2 separate regions of the Homo sapiens genome follow, and region 2 is linked to region 1. Evidence: promoter capture Hi-C in 16 types of primary human blood cells and fetal thymus (Javierre and others, 2016). All regions are on one chromosome and are shown on one strand. The core of a region is centred on a gene start or on the middle of the fragment in contact, and the rest is flanking DNA. Distances in the headings are between cores, read along the strand shown. Region 1 holds the start of RPP25 (ribonuclease P/MRP subunit p25). Region 2 overlaps EDC3 (enhancer of mRNA decapping 3).

Evidence for each region. The method cuts DNA at HindIII sites, captures the fragments that hold promoters and counts their contacts. A CHiCAGO score of 5 or more calls a contact.
Region 2: a contact is called between a fragment that was not itself captured here and the fragment with the promoter of RPP25 in region 1, in 1 of 17 cell types (total CD8 T cells). The highest score is 6.0, in total CD8 T cells.

Annotation. Positions count from the first base shown.
Region 1 is chr15:74,954,088-74,958,752 of GRCh38, reverse strand. RPP25 (ribonuclease P/MRP subunit p25) reads left to right here and starts at 1,981. Exons shown (of 1, transcript NM_017793.3): 1 at 1,981-4,335. The coding sequence starts at 2,170. The coding sequence ends at 2,769. RefSeq lists enhancers at 1-369, 1,364-2,297, 2,298-3,231, 3,232-4,165 and a silencer at 1,689-2,338. The HindIII fragment of the contact is 5,452 bases long and covers 1-4,119 here.
Region 2 is chr15:74,650,541-74,655,033 of GRCh38, reverse strand. All of the region lies in intron 4 of EDC3 (enhancer of mRNA decapping 3), which reads left to right. Among named protein-coding and RNA genes, the nearest start is that of CLK3, 37 kb to the right of the region's middle. The HindIII fragment of the contact is 9,021 bases long and covers 1-4,493 here.

The DNA.
Region 1 (4,665 bases), core at 732-3,231:
TTCACACATTGCGGTGCCAAGGTCCAGTCGCCGCAGCCACTCCCAGGAAGTGGTAAGAGGGTAAATCCCGGTTCTGAACAGCAGGGACCGAGGGCCGCTCCCAAGAAGTGACAAGGAAGTAAACCCTGGTTTTGAACAGCAGGGACTGAGAGCTGCTGCAGATGCCCAGAGGGCGAGAACAGCGGGAGGAGGGAGAACAGCATCTGGCAGCCCCATCTCCAACTGAGGCCCAGCAATCCAAGGCACTGTCATGCCCCCAGCACTTTCCCGGTGGCCCGCCCGCCCCAGCTCTCTGTGTCCCTCCCCGCCACGCCCCGTCACAGTCCCCTGGCTAGGACCAGATCTGCCGCCCTCTCTCAGTCCTGACTGCGTAGGGCGGGTGGAAGGAGGACGGGGGAATCCCGAGAGCAGTTTTAGGGAGGGTCGGGCCCCTTCTCAGACCCCCTCCCTTCCATCAGTAGTCCTGACAGCCCCCAATCTCATCTTTCTCTAATGCTTCTCTCACCCGGCAGGAGACCCCGGGCCTCTCTTTCGGTCCCGTGGAGTTTCCGCCGGAGAGGCATCCAGTAGTTCCATAATGCCCCCAGGGCTTCAACTCCCCATCTTCCTCCCTTCTTTCTCTCTTTTATTTTTTTTTAAGTCTTTTTAATTTTTGTGGGTATACAATAGGTGTCTATATTTAGAGGGTACATGAGACGTTTTGATACAGGCATGCAATGCATAATAATCACATCCTGGAGAATGGGGTATCCCTCCCTTCTCTTTTGTATTTTATTTAATTAATTAATTTATTCATTTTTCGAGACAGAGCTTTGCTCTGTCGCCCCGGCTGGAGTGCAGTGGCATGATCTCGGCTCACTGCAGCCTTCAGCTCCCGGGTTCAAGCGCTTGTCCTGCCTCAGCCTCCCGAGCAGCTAGGATTACAGGAGCGTGCCACAACGCCGAGCTGATTTTTGTACGTTTAATGGAGACGGGGTTTCACCATGTTGACCAGGCTGGTCTCGAACTCCTGACGTCAAGTAATCCGCCCACCTCTGCCTCCCAAAGTGCTGGGATTAAAAGCGTGAGACACCGCGCCCGGCCCCTCCCTTCTCTTTTTTAAAACCTGCGTTCACCTAGCCTCCTTTCGAAAAGGACCCCACTGGATCTCAAGGGGCCAATGTTGCCTGAGCGAATTCCGCCTGGGAGGAAGGGGGCGGCCACGTTGGCAAGGCATCGTGCCTGGCTCACCCTAAAGCGCGCAGCTCTAAGGGTGGGCTCTAGGGCCTGGGTGGAGCGAGCCTACCGCCTTTTCAGAAGAGGTCACGCCCGCTTCCCCACGCGCCTCGGGGAACAGCCTGGCCCAAAGCCTCACTCCTCACGTCCCAGGGGTGGACGGGGGTCCGGGAGCCTCGAGCTCCGGGCAGGCGTGGCGAGGCTGAAGTCTGGGTCTTCCGCGCCCCGCGAGGACCACGCCGCGACGTAATCGCCCGCGGGGAGGCGCGGAGTGGAGCCGCAGCCAGCTCCTCCCGCACTCTGCTGACCGCGCACTAGCTGTCCTTGAGGCAAGAATACTTGGGAGCGGAAAAAAGGTGGGGGTGTTCCCCGGGGCGGGGGAGGAGGGGCAAGGCCCCAGCAAGCCTCTTGGAAATCTCTCCCTGGGAGGGGACGAGGGGCGGCCTTCAGTTGCAAATGGGAAGGGCTCGGATACCGGATTTGAAGCAGTGTTTGCACGGCAAGCGCAGCTTTTATTTAGACTGCCGGTTTGTGAGGGTTGGCTCTCAGAGCGCTGATGGCGATTATAGTGGAACTTCACCTTCACCTGCTCATGCGCCCCGCAGCGCGCCCGCTCCCACGCCCGCGTAGCTGAGGACCCAGACTCGCCAGGAAAGGCTAGTGAGGCTGGGGCCCGGGCGGGCCCGGCCGGGCCGGGTCAGGGGAGGGGCCTGGCGGCAGGGGCGGGGCCTCAGCTAAAGGCGCGGAGCACCCGGCGCCGAGAGCGCTGAGTAGAGCGGCGCCCGCTCGAGAGAAGTGGGGCCGAGATCGCGCCGTCCCAGCCCGCCCGCCGGCGTCTGCGCTGCTCCGGCGCCCTTACCCCTGCTGGCCCTTGCAAGGCGCGACCGGCGGCCATGCAGCCCCGGGGCTGAGGCCGCCCCATGGCAAAGCCGGCGGTCCCGGCGACGACGGCGCATGGAGAACTTCCGTAAGGTGCGCTCCGAAGAGGCGCCAGCGGGGTGCGGGGCCGAGGGAGGCGGCCCGGGCTCCGGCCCCTTCGCAGACCTGGCGCCGGGCGCGGTGCACATGCGGGTCAAGGAAGGCAGCAAGATCCGGAACCTGATGGCCTTCGCCACCGCCAGCATGGCGCAGCCAGCCACGCGCGCCATCGTCTTCAGCGGCTGCGGCCGGGCCACCACCAAAACCGTCACGTGCGCCGAGATCCTCAAGCGCCGCCTGGCGGGCCTGCACCAGGTCACGCGGCTGCGCTACCGGAGCGTACGCGAGGTGTGGCAGAGCCTCCCGCCTGGGCCCACGCAGGGTCAGACGCCTGGCGAGCCGGCCGCTAGTCTCAGCGTACTTAAGAACGTGCCCGGCCTCGCCATCCTACTTTCCAAGGACGCGCTGGATCCGCGACAGCCCGGCTACCAGCCCCCGAATCCCCATCCTGGTCCCTCGTCCCCGCCAGCCGCGCCAGCGTCCAAGAGGAGCCTAGGGGAACCCGCAGCTGGAGAAGGCTCCGCGAAGCGATCGCAACCCGAGCCAGGGGTTGCGGACGAGGATCAGACGGCCTGAAACTCCGGACTGTGGGCCACCTAGTCCGGCAGGATCTTCCGCCAGCGCCTCCACCTTCAGATGTACCTCCAGCCTTTCACTCCTCGGTCCTCCGGAGCCCACAACCTGGACACAGCTCCTCAAGACAGGTAGCATGGACCTTAAGGCGACAAGAGAGGGGCCCCAGGAGTGGCAGGAGAGGATCCCCGACCACCCTAGGGAAACTTCGTGCGATAATTGCTGCTTATGCCCGTGTTGCGTGAAGACACGGAACTTCACCTTTTCTGGGACCTTCTTTGGGGGAGAATGGTGGACAGTGGGATTCTGGAAACTTGTTTGGGACCCCCAAGGGTTAAAGCCACCCAGCATTCACGAAGAGCACCTGAAGTATGGAAGCTGAGAAGAGTTATTGGAATCACCCCCACCGTTGACAGAGGAAGGCAGGGGGTGAGAATTAACTGCTTGAGGGTAGGAGAGTCTGAGATGTGGGGGCCCTATTCCGCTCCCCGCCCTGGGACAGTTTTCCTTTCTAGTTTTCTTTCCCCTGCTTCAGAGGAGCATCTCTGAGGGTTCTAGCTCTTTTAACACCCCTTTTCCCCCTGCTGGCCCAGAGGGAGACCCAGGACTGAACTCTCCAGGCCTCCTCCCCTGAGCCCTGCAGCTGGCTGGAGTCTTGCTTCCAATAAAACAAGCACAAAAATGGCTGTGTCCCCCATTTTTTTTCTAACCACCCGCCTGTGCAGAGACAGCTCTCGCCTGGCCCCTTGTGTCTCCCCTCCCCTCCAGCCTTGCGTCCTGAGTCTTTGGAGTCTTCAGGGTCAGGCACAGAGACTGAACAGCTTCAAAATGGTGCAAGGCACTGCCCAGTCCCTGGCTTCTTCCTCTCTCCTCCCCCACTCCGCCCTCCCGGGCTGGCCCTGGCCTCAGAGGCTGTTGCAAATGGGGGCCCGTGTACCCCTGTACATCGCCACTAAGGGAAAGGGAGCGGCACATTGTTTTTCTGGGAGGGGAAGGAAGGAGTGGAAGGACAGCATCGATGAACTCTCCTGGAGGTCACTGCAAAGGGTGGCAGACCCTGCTGAGGTCCCTGAATCTGCAGCCTCCAGACAATAAACTGAACCTTACCCAGAAGGCTGGCACAAAGCCCCCAGCTCTGTGGGTAGGATCTCCCCTTCACTGCCCTCTCTCTGAGAAAGGACAGCACACCCTTGGGAAAGGGGGAGGAGAGAGACTGAGCACAAATCCACTGCTGGAAATTACTATTCAGCAGAGAAGCTGGGTCTTGGGCTGTGAATCACTGCAGGCCTCCTGATAAGCTGCTGCCTCCAGCCCTGCACAGCTGTCTGTTGAGAGATAACAGCCTCATAAGCTTCTCTGCCCAACTCCAAGCCAGCTGGGGGGTGGGGGTGCTGCTGTGTGCTGGAAGAGCTCTGGTGAGTTGGGGGTGGCATACAGCCCCAGGATCTCAGAAGCAGATCTCATCCCATGCAACTCAGCAGCACCCCTGGAAAGGGGGAGATGCGGAAGAATGTATTTATAAGTCATTTTGCTGGCAGAACCCTGAAATAAATCCTGCTGGTGACAAGAGATACGTTCTGTGGCTGACTGGAGGGGCTCTTAGGGAGGTTTCCCTCCCCTGCAGTATCTCTGCTTGAGCTTTGGAGTGAGCTTTGTCATCCAGACTTTGTCCCTCGTTGCTCTCCCCAAATTCCTGCTCTTGATGAGTCCCTGGAGAGGGCCAAGGGGTTTGGGTTTGCTTGTCTGACCCTCTCAGGGGTGGCCCAAGAAGCATGGAAAGAATGTAAACTGTCCTGACAAGATGGCCTAGCTTCTCCTGGACTTCAGCATCTAAAGGCAGTGATAAAACTTGGACAAGGTCCTGCATGGTAGAAGCTTAAGGGAGACTGGTCTTGGTTC
Region 2 (4,493 bases), core at 648-3,147, 300 kb after region 1:
CACATTACTAACTGGGCCTCTTGGAATATGGTTTGAAAACCATTGTTATTGAATGATCCTAAGAGCTAAAGGGGAAGTCATAATCATTTTAGTAAGTAGAGAAGGAATTGAGTATAATATTTTTATTTTGGTTTGAAGTTTGGAATATAAGGAATATAAATCTTGAATGCTGGTAGCTGCTATAAGGAGAACTGTGGACGCAGCTAATTGCATTTGGAGGAAAGCCAGACATGGCTTTTTTTTTATAGATAATAGTAGGACTCTGTTGTATTTGGTTTCGCTGAGTATAGTAGCTTGCATGTGCTTTCCATGTGAAAAAAAAAAATAGGCCAACTGTCAGGCTAAGAAAGACTGCTAAAAAAAAAACAAGCTGCTGAACTGTGTCAGTCTTTTGCTGGCAGATTCTGGTAGGCATGCCTGTTTATTAAGGTGGTTTCCTTAAGTGGCAGTGACAGTGACACTGTAACTTGCCGAAGTCCTTCGATTTTTAACACCTGTGTAAAGGCAAACAGCCTAGCTCAGAATCGGGTTTAATTTAAATTGCTAGGTTTTAAGCCTTTCAAAGGCAGTTATCATCTGTTAAGTCTGGTACTCCTCCAGATCAGCCAACTATCTACCTCTGACTGCTTCCTTTTTTACTGCCCTCTTTGTAAAAGAAGCTGCTCCTGCTGCTAGCTCTCTATATCTGTAGTCCAAGTGCTGCTGCTGAGGCTGTTGGTTTATGCAGCGTGTGATTTCCCTGGAACTATTTACACTGCAGGATTTTTTTTTTTTTTTTTTGAGACGAAGTCTCACTCTGTTGCCCAAGCTGGAGTGCAATGGCGCAATCTCTGCTCACTGCCAACCTCCACCTCCTGGGTTCAAGCGATTCTCCTGCCTCAGCCTCCTGAGTAGCTGGGACTACAGGTACACACCACCATGCCTGGCTAATTTTTTTGTATTTTTAGTAGAGATGGGGTTTCACTATGTTGGCCAGGCTGGTCTTGAACTCCTGACCTCGTGATCCACCTGCTTTGGCCTCCCAAAGCGCTGGGATTACAGGTGTGAGCCACCGCGCCCAGCCCTACACTGCAGGATTTTTTTAACTTGGGAAGATTATGATCTGCCCTGGAGTCAAGTGGCTAAGAGTGAGAATAACAGTGAGAATCAGGGAGAATTCTCAGAACTAACAGAGCATGAGAAAATATTTACTAACATGGACAAAAGCAGAGGTAGAAATTTTTTTCTGCTACACACTCTGGCTCCCCAACTTGATCTTCACACTTCTTTTGTTTTTAATGACTGAAGTGAAAAGTTCTGTCATATAAAATTATTTTCCTATCAATAAACATACCACAAACCACATGTGCTGGTCCTTAGCCAGAAACTTGGGTGTGGCGTCTTGTGGTATGTAGTGACCAGTTGCACTCCACTGGTTCATGACAATGAGGGGGAAAGAAGCCCAGCAGCTTCATGCCATCTGGTTTTTCTCTTTGTTCTTAACAGTGACAAGGAGTGGAAAGGAAGCCCTTTTGCCAAGCAGCGTCTGTGCTGGAAATAGAGCAAGCAGGCAGTTATCTTACTGAGCAACTTCTTCTACAGGGGGGTTTTCTCTGTGTTCGAGTTCCAAGGCACAATCCTCAAGCAGGTTTTCACTGAGGGGCAGTCAGTGCAGAGCTGGGGACACTTTCTCCATTGGATCTGCTATCCAAATGTTTGGATCAAAAAAGGCAAACTAGAATATATAGGGAAACAGTCTAAAAGCATAAAATGTTAGTGTTAGGTTAGTTGATCACCTAGTATGATTTTTTCATTTTACAGATGAGGACATGAGGCCCAGAGAGGTAAAGGTTTTTTTTTTTTTTTTGGAGACAGAGTCTTGTTTTGTCATCCAGGCTGCAGTGCAGTGGCGTGATCTCAGCTCTCAGCGCACCGCAACCTCTACCTCCCAGGTTCAAGCGATTCTCCTGCCTCAGCCTCCTGAGTAGCTGGGATTACAGGCACCTGCCACCATGCCTGGCTAATTTTTGTATGTTTAGTAGAGACGAGGTTTCACCGTGTTGGCCAGGCTGGTCTCAAACTCCTGGCCTCAAGTGATCTGCCTGCCTTGGCCTCCCAAAGTGCTGGGATTACAGGCGTCAGCCACCACGCCCAGCTGGTAAAGGGTTTTCCATTGGCCAGGTGCAGTGACTCATGCCTGTAATCCCAGCACTTCGGGAGGCCAAGGTGGGAGGATTGCTTGAACTCAGGAGTTCAAGACCAGCCTGGGCAACAAAGTGAGACCCTGTCTCTACAAACAATAGAAAACATTAGCTGGGCACGGTGGCATGTGCCTGTAGTCCCAGCTACTCAGGAGGCTGAAGTAGGAGCGTCTGAGCCCATGAGGTTGCGGCTGCAATGAGCCAAAGTCATGCCACTGTACTCCAGCCTGGGTGACAGAGTCAGACCCTGTCTCAAAAAAAAAACACAAAAACCTTACCCATCACATCTCCTTTTCTCTTCTAAATGTGAATAAAAATGAGGAAAAGGCCAGGCGCAGTGGCTCATGCCTGTAATCCCAGCACTTTGGGGGGCTGAGGCGTGTGGATCACGAGGTCAGGAGATGGAGACCATCCTGGCTAACACGGTGAAACCCCGTCTCTACTAAAAATACAAAAAAATGAGCCGGGCATGGTGGTGGGCGCCTGTAGTCCCAGCTACTTGGGAGGCTGAGGCGGGAGAATGGCGTGAACCTGGGAGGCGGAGCTTGCAGTGAGCGGAGATCGCAGCACTGCACTCCAGCCTGGGTGACAGAGCGAGACTCTGTCTCAAAAAAAAAAAAAAGGAAAAATATAAGAAGAGAAGGGCAGTTTAATGGCAAATAGACTACAGATGATCCTCCAACTTACAATGGTTAGACTTATCATTTTTTGATTCTAGGATGATGTGAAAGCAATAGTCAGTAGAAACTGTAGTTGAAATTATTAATTTAGATCTTTTCCTGAGCTAGCGATATGCAGGTATGATATTCTCTAATGCTGGGCAGCAGCAGGAGTCAAAGCAGTCAGCCGTGCAGTCATGAGAGTAAACAACCAGTATTCTACAGTGTACTGTTTTGCCAGATGATTTTGCCCAACTGTAGGCTAGTGTAAGTGTTCTGAGCAGGTTTAAGGTAGGCTAGGCTGAACTATGATGTTTGTTTGGTAGGTTAGGTGTATTAAATGCATTTTCAACTTAGATATTTTCAATTTATGATGGGTTTATTGGGATAACACTCATTGTAAGTTGAGGGACATCTCTGTAGTCTTTTCTTTAGTACTGCAGTCTCTCAGGAATGGACCAGCAGTTTACAGAAGTAACTTGGAGAGCTCCCGCAGTCTGGCCTTGTGGCATTCATGTCCTAGAATACCAAGTACTTTTGTACTAATCCCCATGGTAGCAAAAGAACAACATATTTATTACCCATTTGGTGATGGCTTGGGATTTAGGATTCTGACAGCTTGCTGCTGGTGCCCTATATATTGACTTCATGCTAAGTGGTGTCAACCAACAGTACATAAGCTATTATTCACTAATTGCTCATACTCCTCTTGGCAGTACTCTTTGCCAGCTGTGTGTGTTGTGATGGGGAACAGTGTTGTTTTAGGTCTATTGATTGGGAAAACACATTCAGGAAGCAACTAAATTTAGCTCTTTGTTTAACCCCAATTTTTTCTCTCTGGAAATTCCTTTCAGGTTCTTTGGCAGGGCTTCTGTCTCCCGCAGTCACGGATCATCAGACATTTCTCTAGCTTGGGCCTGCCCTGCTAAATAATGGTGTCCAGTGATCACACTCTGGATTGGCCAGGGTCTTTCTGGATCCAGACTTGTAATTTGAAATTCTTTGAAGACTGATTCTACGTGCATGTGTTAAGTTTAAATATAAAACACTAGATGTGTGTGAGCACTCTGTGTTCAGTGGTGAGAACTCCCCAAAGAATACTGCTTAGTAAAGTGGTAAGGCTTCAGAGAAGAATCTTTATTCAACACTCATAAGATTCTTTTTTTAATTTTTTTTTAAATTTTATTATTATTTTTTGAGACAGAGTCTTACTCTGGCACCCAGGCTGGAGTGCAGTAGTGCAGTATCAGCTCACTGCAACCTCCACCTACTGAGTTCAAGTGATTCTCCTGCCTTAGCCTCCCATGTAGCTGGGATTACAGGCACACACCACCACACCTGGCAAATTTTTGTATTTTTAGTAGAGATGGGGTTTCACCATATTGGCCAGGCTGGTCTCGAATTCCTGATCTCAGGTGATCTGCCCACCTTGTCCTTCCAAAGTGCTGGGATTACAGGCATGAGCCACCGCGCCTGGCCTAACACTCATGGTATTCTAAAGGAAATACTTTAAGACAGTTTGGGTCAGTCAAAACACTGTGTTTATTATGTTTATTATGTGTAACTGACTCTAAGATAGTCCTTGCCTTTAAGTTATGAAAATGTAATAGGAGATGGAAAGATTCCATATATGCCCAGAGTCCAGTGAAAGTGT